Linked DNA regions of Homo sapiens: regions 2, 3, 4 and 5 are each linked to region 1. The links are contacts of gene promoters, found by promoter capture Hi-C in human tissues and cell types (Jung and others, 2019). All regions are on one chromosome and are shown on one strand. The core of a region is centred on a gene start or on the middle of the fragment in contact, and the rest is flanking DNA. Distances in the headings are between cores, read along the strand shown. Region 1 holds the start of ZNF564 (zinc finger protein 564). Region 2 has its middle 12 kb from the start of ZNF20. Region 3 overlaps ZNF136 (zinc finger protein 136). Region 4 holds the start of DNASE2 (deoxyribonuclease 2, lysosomal). Region 5 overlaps ZNF44 (zinc finger protein 44).

What was found. The method cuts DNA at HindIII sites, captures the fragments that hold promoters and counts their contacts. A contact is called where the count stands out against the background at its distance.
Region 2: a contact is called between a fragment that was not itself captured here and the fragment with the promoter of ZNF564 in region 1, in 5 of the 25 tissues and cell types used here (aorta, dorsolateral prefrontal cortex, heart right ventricle and 2 more).
Region 3: a fragment that was not itself captured here is called in contact with the fragment with the promoter of ZNF564 in region 1 in 6 of the 25 tissues and cell types used here (H1 embryonic stem cells, dorsolateral prefrontal cortex, heart left ventricle and 3 more).
Region 4: a contact is called between the fragment with the promoter of DNASE2 here and the fragment with the promoter of ZNF564 in region 1, in 1 of the 25 tissues and cell types used here (adrenal gland).
Region 5: a fragment that was not itself captured here is called in contact with the fragment with the promoter of ZNF564 in region 1 in 5 of the 25 tissues and cell types used here (adrenal gland, dorsolateral prefrontal cortex, lymphoblastoid cells and 2 more).

The regions. Positions count from the first base shown.
Region 1 is chr19:12,550,015-12,552,838 of GRCh38, forward strand. ZNF564 (zinc finger protein 564) reads right to left here and starts at 1,468. Exons shown (of 4, transcript NM_144976.4): 1 at 1,316-1,468. The coding sequence starts at 1,318. It overlaps LINC02926 (long intergenic non-protein coding RNA 2926), which reads left to right and starts at 1,712. Exons shown (of 2, transcript NR_187485.1): 1 at 1,712-2,824. RefSeq lists enhancers at 105-607, 1,266-1,375, 1,441-1,735, 2,519-2,824 and a silencer at 956-1,035. The HindIII fragment of the contact is 29,302 bases long and covers 1-2,824 here.
Region 2 is chr19:12,126,911-12,129,734 of GRCh38, forward strand. No RefSeq gene overlaps it. Among named protein-coding and RNA genes, the nearest start is that of ZNF20, 12 kb to the right of the region's middle. The HindIII fragment of the contact is 9,523 bases long and covers 1-2,824 here.
Region 3 is chr19:12,179,235-12,182,058 of GRCh38, forward strand. The region is part of intron 1 of ZNF136 (zinc finger protein 136); the gene reads left to right. Among named protein-coding and RNA genes, the nearest start is that of ZNF136, 18 kb to the left of the region's middle. The HindIII fragment of the contact is 3,876 bases long and covers 1-2,824 here.
Region 4 is chr19:12,880,013-12,882,836 of GRCh38, forward strand. It overlaps DNASE2 (deoxyribonuclease 2, lysosomal), which reads right to left and starts at 1,437. Exons shown (of 6, transcript NM_001375.3): 1 at 1,278-1,437; 2 at 960-1,140; 3 at 790-868. The coding sequence starts at 1,363. RefSeq lists enhancers at 968-1,595, 1,255-1,364 and cis regulatory regions at 1,259-1,819, 2,559-2,824. The HindIII fragment of the contact is 10,490 bases long and covers 303-2,824 here.
Region 5 is chr19:12,275,529-12,278,352 of GRCh38, forward strand. ZNF44 (zinc finger protein 44) reads right to left here. Exons shown (of 4, transcript NM_016264.4): 2 at 428-554. Among named protein-coding and RNA genes, the nearest start is that of ZNF44, 18 kb to the right of the region's middle. The HindIII fragment of the contact is 9,813 bases long and covers 1-2,824 here.

The sequences.
Region 1 (2,824 bases), core at 218-2,717:
GGGCGCGGTGGCTCACGCCTGTAATCCCAGCACTTTGGGAGGCCGAGGCAGGCGGATCACCTGAGGTCGGGAGTTCGAGACCAGCCTGGCCAACATGGAGAAACCCTGTCTCTACTAAAAATACAAAATTAGCCGGGCATGGTGGCGCATGCCTGTAATCCCAGTTACACGGGAGGCTGAGGCAGGAGAATCGCTTGAACCCAGGAGGTGGAGGTTGCAGTGAGCTGAGATCGCGCCATTGCACTCCAGCCTGGGCAATAAGAGCGAAACTCTGTCTCAAAAAAAAAAAAAAATTTTACCGTAGAGTGTCAGGTTCTTATTCTCCGTTTCCCTCTCAGGTTACAAGTACACAAACAAGAGGCCGGGCGCGGTGGCTCACGTCTGTAATACCAGCATTTTGGGAGGCGGAGGTGAGCGGATCACCTGAGGTCTGGAGTTTGAGACCAACCTGGCCAACATGGAGAAACCCAGTTTCTACCAAAAATACAAAAAGTAGCCGGTCGTGGCGGCGCATGCCTGTAATCCCAGTTACTCAGGAGGCTGAGGCAGGAGAATTGCTTGAACCCGGAAGGCGAAGGTTGCAGTGAGCTGAGATCTTCCCACTGCACTCCAGCCTGGGCGACAGAGCGAAACTCTGTCTGAAAAGAAAAAAAAAACAACAAACAGAAAACAAATCCTTTCAAAAGAGTATGGTGAAAGAAACTATAAACAACTAAAATACTGTGTCTTAAATGTCAAACAAAAAACAGCTGATAATGTTGATTTGGCGAGGGGAGGTCACCTTTGGGAATGCGGGGAAGGAACCGGAAATTTAGGCATTTATTTCCAGCCCCAGAAAAAGCTAGGCTAAAAAAAACGGGAGTCGTAGGTTTGAGATTCTTTTTCCAGTACGTTTGGAAGACTCGGAGGAAGACCAGTCCCCCGGAAAAAAAGACGATGTACTGGGAAGGCCACAGCCCACAGCTCTTCCCATGCACGAACCGCACACCCGAGACGGGATTCCGCCTTATGACCCTCCCGTGTCCCAGTACAAACAATCTGGAGAGAGGCGGGGCTGCGGGCGCGGAGCTGCCCAGACAGGGCTCCGAGGCCGAGGCCGCAGTCGCCGCGCAGGGACGGGACAGGACGCCTGGGGTACTGGCTACGGCCCAACCCACCCTGCGGCCGAGGGGACAGAGGGCCGAGCTGCGCCAGGGAACTCGGGTCCCAGACCCTGGAGTCGCTGCAGGGAGGCCAGGGTGCTTCCACAGCCGGTTCCGGCCGGTTCCCACAAGCCCCTCCCCCAGTCTCCAGGCGCCCGGCCCCGCACACGCACCATTTCCTGGCTTCCAGGGTGTCCCGGGGTCCTGCCTACGGCTCTCTCCGGCCTGTGCAGGTCCCAGCGCGCCAGACGCTGCGGTGGAGCCACCGGGGCCACTGGAGAAGCGGAGACCGGAACCCAAACGCAGCGGACACGAAACAGGAAGACCCCGCGGAGTTGTTGAACATTGCCCCTGTCCCCCTTGCAGAGTTCCTGATTGGATGGTTTGCAGGTTCCCGCCCCAGTGCCCCTGATTGGGTGATGATTCAAGTCCTGCCCCCTTGGTACTGAGTGACAGGAGAAGCAATGCGGTATGTGGCTGAGTAAAGACAGATTGACAGGGTCTTGGCCACTGCCCTTCGCGGGCCGGGCTTCCTCCTTCTGTAACCTTCTGTGCCGGGGAGGATATTTGCATTTAAGCAGAAAGTGTTTCAGGCTCTGCAGAGGTGACACTGGCGTGTTTCTGCACTCAGGGTGCCCTTCCTGCCTTTTCCTCCCGGACACAGAGTCACAAGTGTGCACAGGGAATGACAGACTCGGCGTCCAGTGGAGCCATCCCCTGGCCTCGGAGTAGGAGGCGCGCCCAGGCCAGGCCAGACCACAGTGTAACAGGAGGGAGGAGGGCTTGCTTCTTTCAGGCAAGAAAATTAAAACGGACAAAGAAATAAAAGTATTAAATGTATAGGAAAAACTGGAGTTTTTATGACAGCGATCATCTATAAAGAAACCAAGAGAAGTAAGCAAACATTTGAACTAGCTCAGACAAGCAGCCTGCTTCACCCGCAGTTCACAAGGAAAACCCACAATCATAACGTTAAAAATATTCCCAAGCGCCGGGCGCGGTGGCTCACGCCTGTAATCCCAGAACTTTGGAAGGCCAAGGTGAGAAAATTGCTTAAGGTCAGGAGTTCAAGACCAGCCTAACCAACATGGTGAAACCCCATCTCTACTAAAAATACAAAAATTAGCCAGGCGTGGTGGCAGGTGCCTGTAATCCCAGCAACTCGGGAAGCTGAGGTACGAGAATCGCTTGAACCTGGGAGGGGGAAGTTGCAGTGAGCCGAGATAGCGCCATTGCACTCCAGCCTGGGCGACAGAGCGAGACTAAAAAATGAAATATGAAATGAAATGAAATAATGAAATGAAGAAATGAAATATAAAATAAAATAATCCCAAGCTTGGGACCCAGACTCTAACTGCTGAAATGGAACCCCAGTGTGGATCAGAACCTGGTGATGAGACAGGGACACTTAAGAATTCAACTTTGGGAGCTCAAGGTGCCCTCCAGTCCTCTCCTCACAGTGTGGAAACACTCTTTCCTTCAAAACCTTCATTTGTACCAGCAGGAAACTCTCACCCGGAGTCAATGTAAAGTCGTGACCTAAATAAATTGTCATGTTCCCAAACCTTTTCTCCAGGGGACAATGCAAACAAGTTTTTCACTGAGTCTGACCCTCACAGATTTTCTTCATGTATACAAATTACAGCCTGACTCAGCGACCCCATGAATGCTAAAACCAAAAC
Region 2 (2,824 bases), core at 204-2,703, 420 kb before region 1:
AAGAGGGAGCTTCATTGACGTTGCCTTTCTGGAAAATGGTTCAAAGGACTTTGTTGGAAATTCTACTCTACTCTACTCTACTGTATTTATGTTATGTTATGTTGTTATGTTATGTTATGTTATGTTATGTTATGTTATGTTATGTTATGTTATGTTATTTTAGAGACAAGGTCTTGCTCTGTTGCCCAGGCTGGAGTGCAGTGTTGCAGTCTCAGCTCACTGCAACCTCTGCCTCCCAGGTTCAAGTGATTCTCCTGCTTCAGCCTCCCGAGTAGCTGGGATTACAGGTGGCCACCACCCCAGCCGGCTAATTTTTGTACTTTTAGTAGAGACAGGGTTTCACTATGTTGGCCAGGCTGGTCTAGAACTCCTGACCTCAAGTGATCCGCCCGCCTTGGCCTCCCAAAGTGCTGGGATTATAGGCATAAGCCGCCGTGCCTGGCCCCTGAAATACTTTTTAATATAGGGTGTAAGCCAGGCGCGGTGGCTCACATCTGTAATACAAATACAAATACAAAAATTAACCAGGTGTGGTAGTGCGTGCCTGTAATCCCAGCTACTCGGGAGGCTGAGGCAGGAGAATTGCTTGAACCCAGCAGGTGAAGGTTGCAGTGAGCTGAGATCGCACCACTGCACTCAAGCCTGGCGACAGAGCGAGACTCTGTCTCAAAAAAAAAAAAAGTGTGTAACAGTTGGTGAAAAGGTTCAAAAAAAAAAAGAAAAGAAAAGAAAGGTGACACTTAAATTTACATGACTTTTTTTTTTTTTTTTTTGAGACAGCGTCTTGCTCTGTCACCCAGGCTGGAGTGCAGTGGCACAATCTTGGCTCAATGCAAGCTCTGCCTCCCAGGTTCATGCCATTCTCCTGCCTCAGCCTCCTGAGTAGCTGGGACTACGGGCGCCCGCCACCACGCCCGGCTAATTTTTTGTATTTTTAGTAGAGACAGGGTTTCACCATGTTAGCCAGGATGGTCTCGATCTCCTGACCTCGTGATCTGTCTACCTTGGCCTCCCAAAGTGCTGGGATAACAGGCGTGAGCCACCGCACCCAGCCTACATGACTTAACTTTTTACCTTGTTAAACAGAGAGCAATCAACCCTGTGAACGTTATGTTCCAGATTCTGACAAGTGTGTTGAAAAAATTCTACACACTAAATGAAATAGGAGTAATGGGTGAGAGAGTGTGACCTTGAGTTTCAAGTTGGGGTAAGGGGGGCGGAAAAGAAGACAGTGTCTTGAGGTGGTGACATCTGTAGTGAGATCTGAAATGACGTGTTAGTATATGAAGTCAGGAAAGAGGATTCTGGGAAGATGGCAGAATAGGAAGTATCAAGCAGAAACTACAGGAAGCCATTTTTGTGAACTGAGTTCCTCTGCTGGGCCCTCAGAAACCAGACCTACCCCAGCGATTAGGAAATTACACCTAGGCAATCGTCATTGCCCCACACGCTACAAAGAACGTTCAGTAGACAATGGCTTGAGAAATGCGCCCAGTCCAATCTTTGGGTAAGCCAGGTGCAGAGATGTACAAAAAGACTGTCCTTGGCAAAGTTCTATGGTCACATGATGTTTGAGGCAGTTCTGCATATCATATGAGGGCCTTATTGGAGTTCTTGTGTATCTCTGCCAAGAGAGTACTGCACAGCAGAGGTCATTATTGCAACTTCCGTGCCATTTATTTATTTTGAGACAGAGTCTTGCTCTTTTGCCAGGCTGAAGTGCAGTGGCACGATCTCAGCTCACTGCAGTCTCTGCCTCCCGGGTTCAAGGGATTCCTCTGCCTCAGCCTCCTGAGTAGCTGGGACTATAGGAGCCCGCCACCACGCCCGGCTAATTTTTTGTATTTTAGTAGAGACAGGTTTCACCATGTTGGCCAGAATGGTCTCAATCTCCTGACTTCATGATCCGCCCGCCTCGGCCTCCCAAAGTGCCGGGATTACAGGCATGAGCCACTGCACCCAGCCACTTCTGTGCCATTTAATTGTTCACCAGTTGCCACAGGTCTATCTGTGTACACCTGAGTTGCTTGAGTGGTTCTAAACAAATGAATTTAACTTTCATTGTGGTGTTGAATTTTTGTATATACCTTTTATGAATTATTTTGACCGTGGGCTGACCAATATCATGAGTAAAAGATTTAAAAGGTCTAGAGGAGCCAGGCATGTTGGCTCATGCCTATAATCCCAGCACTTTGGGAGGCCGAGGCAGATGGATCGCTTGAGGCCAGGAGTTTAGAGACCAGTCTGGCCAACATGGTGAAACTCCAATTCTACAAAAAACACAAAAATTAACTGGGCATGGTGGTGTTCGCCTGTAGTGCCAGCTACTTGGGAGGTTGTGACGAGACTTGCTTGAACCTGGGAAGCAGAGGTTGCAGTGAGCTGAGATCGTGCCACTGCAATTCAGCCTAGGCAACAGAGCGACACTCTGTCTCAAAAAAAAAAAAAAAAAAGCCATAGGTAGGAAGCAAAATGTAAATAATGAGAAAAATATATATCTTAAGTTCACATTTGAAATATGTAAGAAAATTTGGTGATGCTGCAAATAAACTGAGGATTGTAATTATATAAATTACAAGTTTTTCCTGAGAAAAAACACATTTTCAACCTAAGTACATTGATCTTAAAGGATTTTTCCTTTGCTTTTTGACCTTGCTTTGTGAAAAAGTGCAAAAATAAGACATGAATAGTCAAAATAAGAATTTTTGGGCCAGGCGTGGTGGCTCACACTTATAATCCCAGCACTTTGGGAGGCCGAGGTGGGCGGATCACGAGGCCAGGAGATCGAGACCATCCTGGCTAACATGGTGAAACCCTGTCTCTA
Region 3 (2,824 bases), core at 183-2,682, 370 kb before region 1:
TCATAAATATGATAGTAAACCATACGTGACTGTGTGGTGTATCAATAGGAGAGCGCTCAAAAGAATTTCTTTTTTTTTTTTTCTTTTTTTTTTGAGATGGAGTCTCACTCTGTCGGCCAGGCTGGAGTGCAAGTGGCACAGTCTGGGCTTACTGCAACCTCTGCCTTCCAGGTTCAAGCTATTCTCCTGCCTCACCCTCCTGAGTAGCTGGGATTACAGGCACAGGTCACCATGCCTGGTTAATTTTTGTATTTTTTATAGAGACGGGGTTCCTCCATGTTGGCCAGGGTGGTCTCGATCTCCTGACCTCAGGTGGTCTGCCAGCCTCGGCCTCCCAAAGTGCTGGGATTACAGGCGTGAGCCACCACACCCAGCCCAAAAGAATTTCTTCTAGGACGTGTGCTTGCTTCAGGTGTATTGATTGCTATTCAAAGCAAGAAGCTTCTCTGGATTGTATACTATGAAGAAGCAAGGTTATTTCTGGCCTTGGTTATTATGATAGTTCTTACCCAGAAGTAAAAAAGATGGAGTGGCGCTAAGTTTATTACCTAAACACTGAAATATTTCTTATGATGAATTAGACATGGCTTCCCATAAGATACCTCAGTTGAAATATATAAATTCTAACTATTGATAATTTTTTTTTTTTGAGACAGAGTCTGGCTCTGTTGCCCGGGCTGGAGTGCAGTGGCGCAGTCTCGGCTCACTGCAAGCTCCACCTCCCGGGTTCACACCATTCTCCTGCCTCAGCCTCCCGAGTAGCTGGGACTACAGGTGCCCGCCACCACACCCGGCTAATTTTTTTGTAATTTTAGTAGAGACGGGGTTTCACCATGTTAGCCAGGATGGTCTTGATCTCCTGACCTCGTGATCTGCCTGCCTCGGTCTCCCAAAGTGCTGGGATTACAGGCGTGAGCCACCGCCCCCGGCCAACTACTGATAATTTTTAAAAGTCTCCCTTATTAGTCAAATTAGGCTAATGCCTCTAGGAAAGTTGTCAGAATATAAACCTAGCAAGGGACAGAGACATGATCACTATTCTAATCAAGCCTCTCTTGCTCAGATAATATGCTCTTGATGCTAATTTTTCAATATGCCTCATATGCCAGAACTGTAGACTCAGAACATCCAGAATTAAGCACAAATGATGCAGGCACTGAAGGCTCTGATATGGGAACACAAAGTGAATAAATTCTTGAAATCCTGGTGCTTATATTTTTGTGAGAAAGGAGAGGGGTTGAAAAAATGGTAAGACTGGTTTATAAGAAGGAAATAAGCACTTTGAAGGAAAGTAAATGATGGTGTGAGATAATACGGAAGCTGAGGGTGTGTGTATATGTTCTCTGTGGAGGGTGGCAACATCAGTGAGTGAAGAAATGTCACCATCGGTCATTTATATTTCCACCTCTTATACATCTTCAGCACCATTTCAGGAACTGCTTAAGTGTGGATGTAGATAGTGCATAGCAATATAGACAGTCCTGCCTTTTTGAGGTTAACAATAATGATTCCCCGTAAAGATATAGGTATGGCTTATTGTCATTTTTGCATTGGTTAAAAATTTTAATGCATGTAATATGTGATGCTGACTTTGGACATGGGTATCTGGAACCTGGAGGAAGGCACACCACTGCATACGGTGTGTGCTAGAACCACGTTGGATCCCTGTTGAAACATCTTAAGTGTTCTGCCCCTTAAGCCACAGGGGCGGAGCCTGAAGTTATATCCAGTTAGGGGTGCCAGGATGGCATCCTACTTATTGTCCAATCAGGCGCGCCTCAGAGCCCTGTCTGCCCCCAACCTCACCCCACCCTGTACGATCTTGTGGTGAATTTTCTTTTCTTGAGCTGGCTGCATTACCTTTCTTCTGGCTCCTGGCTCCACTGCCCTGGCTCTGTGCTCTGTGCTGGCCGTGGTAGCCGGAGGGAGGACCCAGGAGACCCCGAAGATGGGAAATGGCGAGTGTGGGAAATGGCAAGTGTGCAGGGGCCTGGGGTCCGACATGGCTGGAGGGGCCCAGGCCTCCTCGCCATCAGCATCCGATTCTGTTTCATCTGAGTTGCTCAAATGTGTGGGAAGCAGGGTATCAAATCCACCCCCGGCCTAACTCTCCTTGATCTGGCAGCAAACTGCTAAATTGTAGGTATAATTTCTGCAGTCCCCAACACCAGCTTCTGTTCTCGGATGCACAGTGTTATCAACTATTTGGTTTTTTTGTTTTGTTTTGTTTTTGCATTTGTTTTTGTTTTTTTTTTTTTGGTGGAGTCTCATTCTGTCGCCGAGGCTGGAATGCAGTGGCGCAATCTCCACTCACTGCAATGTCCGCCTCCTGGATTCAAGCGATTTTCCTGCCTCAGCCTCCTGAGTAGGTGGGATTACAGGCACCTGCCACCACGCCCAGCTAATTTTTTTTGGGGGGGGACAGAGCCTCACTGAGTCGCCCAGGCTGGAGGGCAGTGGTGTGATCTTGGCTCACTGCAAGCTCCGCCTCCCGGGTTCACACCATTCTCCTGCTTCAGCCTCCCGAGTAGCTGGGACTACAGGCACCCACCACTACGCCCGGCTAATTTCTTTGTATTTTTAGTAGAGACAGGGTTTCACCATATTAGCCAGGATGGTTTCGATCTCCTGACCTCGCAATCCGCCTGTCTCTGCCTCCCAAAGTACTGGGATTACAGGTGTGAGCCACCGCGCCCGGCCATTTTTTTGTGTTTTTTAGTAGAGATGGGGTCTCACCGTGTTGGCCAGGCTGGTCTCGAACTCCTGACCTCAAGTGATCTACCCACCTTGGCCTCCCAAAGTGCTGGAATTACAGGTGTGAGTC
Region 4 (2,824 bases), core at 187-2,686, 330 kb after region 1:
AAGAATCGCTTGAACTGGGGAGATGGAGATTGCAGTGAGCTGAGATTGCACCACCGAACTCCAGCCTGGGTGATGGAGAGAGAGTGCCGCAAAAAAAAAAAAAAAAAAAAAAAGCCAGGCGTGGTGGGGGGTACCGGCAGGCCCAGTACTTGGGAGGCTGAGGTAGGAGGATCACCTGAGCCCTGGGAGGTCAAGGCTGCAGTGAGCTGTGATACTGCACTCCAGCCTAGGTGACTGGGTGAGACCTTGTCTAAAAGAAAATAAAATAGGGGAAATAGATGCCCAAGGTCTGACAGGGGAGATCTCCCACCCCACTATGGAGGTCAGGGGTTAGCTTGGAAAAATGCATAGGAACTCGGCTGGGCAGGGTGGCTCATTCCTGTAATCCCAGCACTTTGGGAGGCCAAGGCGGGTAGATCACTTGAGGTAGAAACCAGGAGTTCGAGACCAGCCTGGCCAACATGGTGAAACCTCGTCTGTACTAAAAATATGAAAATTAGCCTGGTGTGATGGTGCGCCTTTAATACCAGCTACTTGGGAGGCTGAGACAGGAGAATTGCTTCAACCCCAGAGGCAGAGATTGCAGTGAGCCAAGATTGTGCCACTGCACTCCAGCTTGGGTGACAGAGCGAACTCCCACCGTCTCAAAAACAAAGAAAAAAAAAAGTTGGGGGGAATAGATGCCCAGGGTCTGACAGTGCAGATCTCCCCGACCACCCCATGCACGTCAGGGGTTACCTTGGAAAAATGGGACCCGAGTCTCTCCCCAGCCCCCAATCCAGGCCTCACCCTTCGTGTGCCCACGCATGGAAGAGTCCTGAGCCTTGCTGGGTTGAGGCGGTTGGTCATTGTAGAGCAGGAAGGCGAGCTGCGGGCGGATAAACGGAGGCAACGTGAAATTCCTCCCAGGCAGGGCAGCCCTAGAGTTTCGCCCCTAGTTGGCCCGGGGCCCCCTTCACCTGGCTGGTGTTGCTCCGGTACAGCGGCTGCAGGCTTCGGCCCACGGCCCCCTCCGGGCTGTTGATGAGTGCCCTGCCGTCCCGCCAGCCTCCGGAGCTCTCGTCCAGATACTTGTACTGCAGCCCTCTCTGCGCCGCCTCCCCGGACCCTCTAAGAGCTGGCAGCTTGTAGACCACGAACCTGGAGGTCGGAGAATGCACAGAAATAGGAGAGAGGGAAGAGAAGGCACCCCAGGGTTCCCCGAGGAGGTAGCCATCCCGGTTGAGTGACCGCAGCCGGACCCCGGGGCGATGGTAGGCCCCCCGCTGCGCACTCACCAGTCTACAGGCTGCCCGGAGTCCCCGTAGCAGGTCAGGGCCCCGGCGGGGACGCACAGCAGCGCTGCCAGCAGCAGCGGGATCATAGCTGCTATGGGGCTGAGATCCAGGAATCTGTGTCGGGACTGCGGGGCGCTGGGTTACATCAGAGGCCAGGACTGGCACCTGGCGCCTTTCACTTCCCTAAACTTGCCTGGGAACCGGGGCGGGGACATCACGAGGGTACAGACTCCTCCCCCGAGACGCGATGCTGCGTTTTGGAGAGGCAAAAGGCAACGCTGAGTCTGCCCAGACCACGCCCACGACGGGCCCGGCGCTCCAGCGTCTCCTGGAGCCTGGCCACCGTTCCTTTTCGTGGTAGCTAATCCCAGCCCACGCTCTTCTGTCTGACCCAACTCCCGCCCGGGTTTCTGGATCAGGCACAAGTTTGTATTTTATTTTTTATTCCAGCCCTACAACCTGGGTCCAACTCTTGGGACCTTTGTTCTTCCTCTTTTTTTTTTTTTTTTTTTTTTTTTTTTTTTGAGACGGAGTTTCACTCTTGTCGCCCAGGCTGGAGTGCAATGGCACGATCTCGGTTCACTGCAACCTCCGCCTTCCTGATTAAAGCGATTATCCTGCCTCAGCCTCCCGAGTAGCTGGGATTACAGGCGCCCGACACCACGCCCGGCTAATTTTTGTAGTTTTAGTAGAGACGGGGTTTTTCCATGTTGACTAGGCTGGTCTCGAACTCCTGACCTCGTGATCCACCAGCCTCGGCCCCCGAAAGTGCCAAGATTGCAGAAGTGAGCCACTGCGCCCCTTAAGAAGCATTTGTGTTCCAGTGTATCTTCCCCTTTTTCTTTCTTTTTTTTTTTCCTTCCTTTTTTTTTTTTTTTTTTCCCGGACAATATCTCGCTCTGTTGCCCAGGCCGGAGTGCAGTGGCGCAATCTTGGCTCACTGCAACCTCTGCCTCCCCAGCTCAAGTGATCCTCTCACCTCAGCCTCCCGAGTAGCTGGGATCACGGGCACATGCCACTATGCCCAGCTAATTTTTGTAGTTTTTTTTTTGAAACACGGTTTCACCATGTGGCTCAGGCTGAACTCCTGAGCTCAAGGGATCCACCTGTCTTGCCTCCCAAAGTGCTGGGATTACAGGCATGTAATCCACGCCACCCAGACTCTCCTTTTTCATTCTGCACGTTTTCTCCAGGATCCCCTGAGCTAGCAAAGAGGTGACTGTATGTTTGTTTTTTGTCGTTTTGAGACAGGATAATGGTTTCTCACCCAGGCTAGAATGCAGTGACTCCATCACAGTTCACTGCAGCCTCAACCTACTGGGCTCAAGAGATCTTCCCAGGTAGCTGGTACTACAGGCCTGTGCCACCACACCCAGATAATTGTTCATTGCAGAGATGAGGGTCTCACTATGTTGCCCAGGCTGCTCTGGAACTCCGGGGTTCAAGTGATTCTCCCACCTCAGCCTCAAAGGATCATGGCAGGGCAAAGGGCTATGGGAATCTGAGTACTGGCTTGAAACTGCCTTTGCAAAAATTATGACAGAAAA
Region 5 (2,824 bases), core at 183-2,682, 270 kb before region 1:
TCCCAGCTACTCAGGAGGCTGAGGCAAGAATGGTGTGAACCCGGGAGGCGGAGCTTGTAGTGAGCCAAGATGGAGCCACTGCACTCCAGCCTGGGCGACAGAGCAAGACTCCATCTCAAAAAAAAAGAAAAAAAATTTACTTTCTCTAACTTACTTTATTCTGAGAATACAGTATGCAATACATATGACATATATGTGCTCGTCACTTGTTTATATGACTGATAAGGCTGCTGGTCAAAAGTAGGTTAAGCTGTGGCAGACAAAAGATTATATGAGGACATACAACAGGTTGGGGCCTGGCACTTCACCCTGTGTTGTTCAGGAATGAACTGTATCCCTTTTCCATATTTCAAATCACTGAACAGCATTGATGACCACAAAACAAATGTCTCTAATTGACCAAATGAAGACATGATGTCATCCATACCTATACAGTTCAGGTTCCTAATGGTTTCTCGCATCACATCTCTGTAGAGATTCTTCTGTGATGGACCCAGCAAAGCCCACTCCTCATGGGTGAAGTTCACAGCCACATCCTCAAAGGCCACTGAGTCCTGAAACATCCCATATGTCCAGAAAAGGAAGGTTGAAACTCACAGTACTGAGAACCTATACTCACCTTCATAAACTTCCCATGATGCTGTGGTTTCCAAGCATTTATTCAATGACGTGGTAAATCCACTCTTATTCTGTGTCTGCACTCACTGTCTGATGCTGGAATTCTGATGCTGGAATTGGGCTTGCTAAAATAACAGTTGAGTAGGAACATATCTCTTATTGGTGAATTATGCAAGTGAATCTTATTGCCTGGATTACTCCTAATGTCTGTTTCTACAGTGGGTCTGTAGTCCTTGTCATGACAAAGTCCTACCACCTACTGTGCAAAAGAGAGTTACAATTAGCAGTCCTGAGACGGCATATCCTTACAACTGCTTGTTCACAATGTTGAACCTTTCGTGGTGTCTAGACAATGTATTTAGGGGAGGGCCCCGTAAGCATAACTAATAAAGGGGGTGGAGTGTGCCTAAACTATTTGTGTAAAAATTATGGTATTTGCTTAACTCCTAACTTCCCTCTGAGAGTTTGGAATTGTATTACATCCTCAGCAGAGGAAGTGTACCCAATCAGCCACTGCTAGGTTTGAATGTCTTCCCCTCCAAAATGCAGGCTGAAACTGAATCTCCAATGTGGAAGTAATCAAAGGTAGTGGTTTAAGAGGTGAGTGGGTCTTGAGGGTTTGGAACACATGGATGGATTAATCCACTCATGTATGAATGGCTTAATAAATAAACTGGTTATCACAGATGAGGTTCTGGTGTCCTTATGAGAAGAGGAAGATACTTCAGCTAGACACTCAGCCCCCTCATCATGTAATGCCCTGTACCACCCAGGGACTCTACAGAGTCCCCATCAGCAAGAAGATTCCCACCAGATGCCCACTTTGACCTTACTTGATCTTCCCAGCTTTCAGAACTGCAAAAAATAAATATCATTTCTTATAGATTACCCCAGTTCTGGTATCCTGTTGTAAGTAACAAAAAAACAGTCTTATAGACTAAGACATACACAAAGAAACACTCTAGGCACAGGGTCCCTAATGTGCAACTCTGGTAGATGATATTTCATATTTTTGTTGTTGTTGTTTTTTCAATGTCTTACTTGGGGGATTTAGCCTATCCTACGTGATTACACAGAGAGAATATTTGGAAGCTGGTGACTGGTTCCCTGTAGATCAAATGTAGTTAAGTATGACAAAAGACTAATAAAAGAGATTTTACCAACTAAATAGAAAAAATTGTAACTTTCTACTGGGTAATGTCGAAGGAGAAAGAAAAGAAGAGGACAGACTGCAAATGTTCTTAGACAGAATTCAGTGTCAGCTTTCATGAATATCAATTATATTCCATAAATCTCAACAGCAGACATTTAATAATCAATAACATTACATAAACCAATTTTTATAGAAGTCATAAATGTCTAAAGATGCTTAAAAAAAACCTTCTCATCAAGAAAGTAGACAGCTTTACAAAAACAAACAGAAGATTTAAAACTGTAATTTTTCACATCCCATACTATTAACAGAGAGAAAAAGATACATAAACAGGAAAGTGAAAAATGATAGAAAAGCCTTGTATTGTTTTTTCTTTGGCCCCATCTCTGCCCATCTCATTGCCAGTCCTGAAGACAGCAGAGTTCCCAGTGTAGAACTCTGATCACCACAGAGTGTACAGATCACATTTTGTTTCCACATTATTGCCTTTGTATTTTTGAATCAGTCTGGGGACTAACCGAAGGTCTGAAACAAGGCTCTCTTTTCTATTTCATCTACAACAGAATCCAATCAGAGTCAAACTGGGCAGGAACTACTTTAAAATGTTGTAAAATACACAAAAAGTGTGCAACCACCTAGGACAACACAAGATGACTAAGACATACATTAGAAGGCCAGGTGTGGTGGCTCACACCTGTAATCCCAGTACTTTGGGAGGCCAAGGTGTTGGGAACAGGCCCCCAAATCTAGCCATAAACAAAATCTCTGCAGCACTGTGACATGCTCGTGATGGCTATGACGCACATGCTGAAGGTTGTTGGTTTACCGGAATGAGGGCAAGGAACACCTGGCCCACCCAGGGTGGAAAACTGCTTAAGGCGTTCCTGAACCACAAACAATAGCATGGGCCATCTGTGCCTTAAGGACAAGTTCCTGCTGCAGATAACTAGCCAGAGCCCTTCCCTTTGTTTCCCGTAAGGAAGGCTTTTAGTTAGTCTATAATCTATAGAAACAACGCTTATCACTGGCTTACTGTCAATAAATATGTGGGTA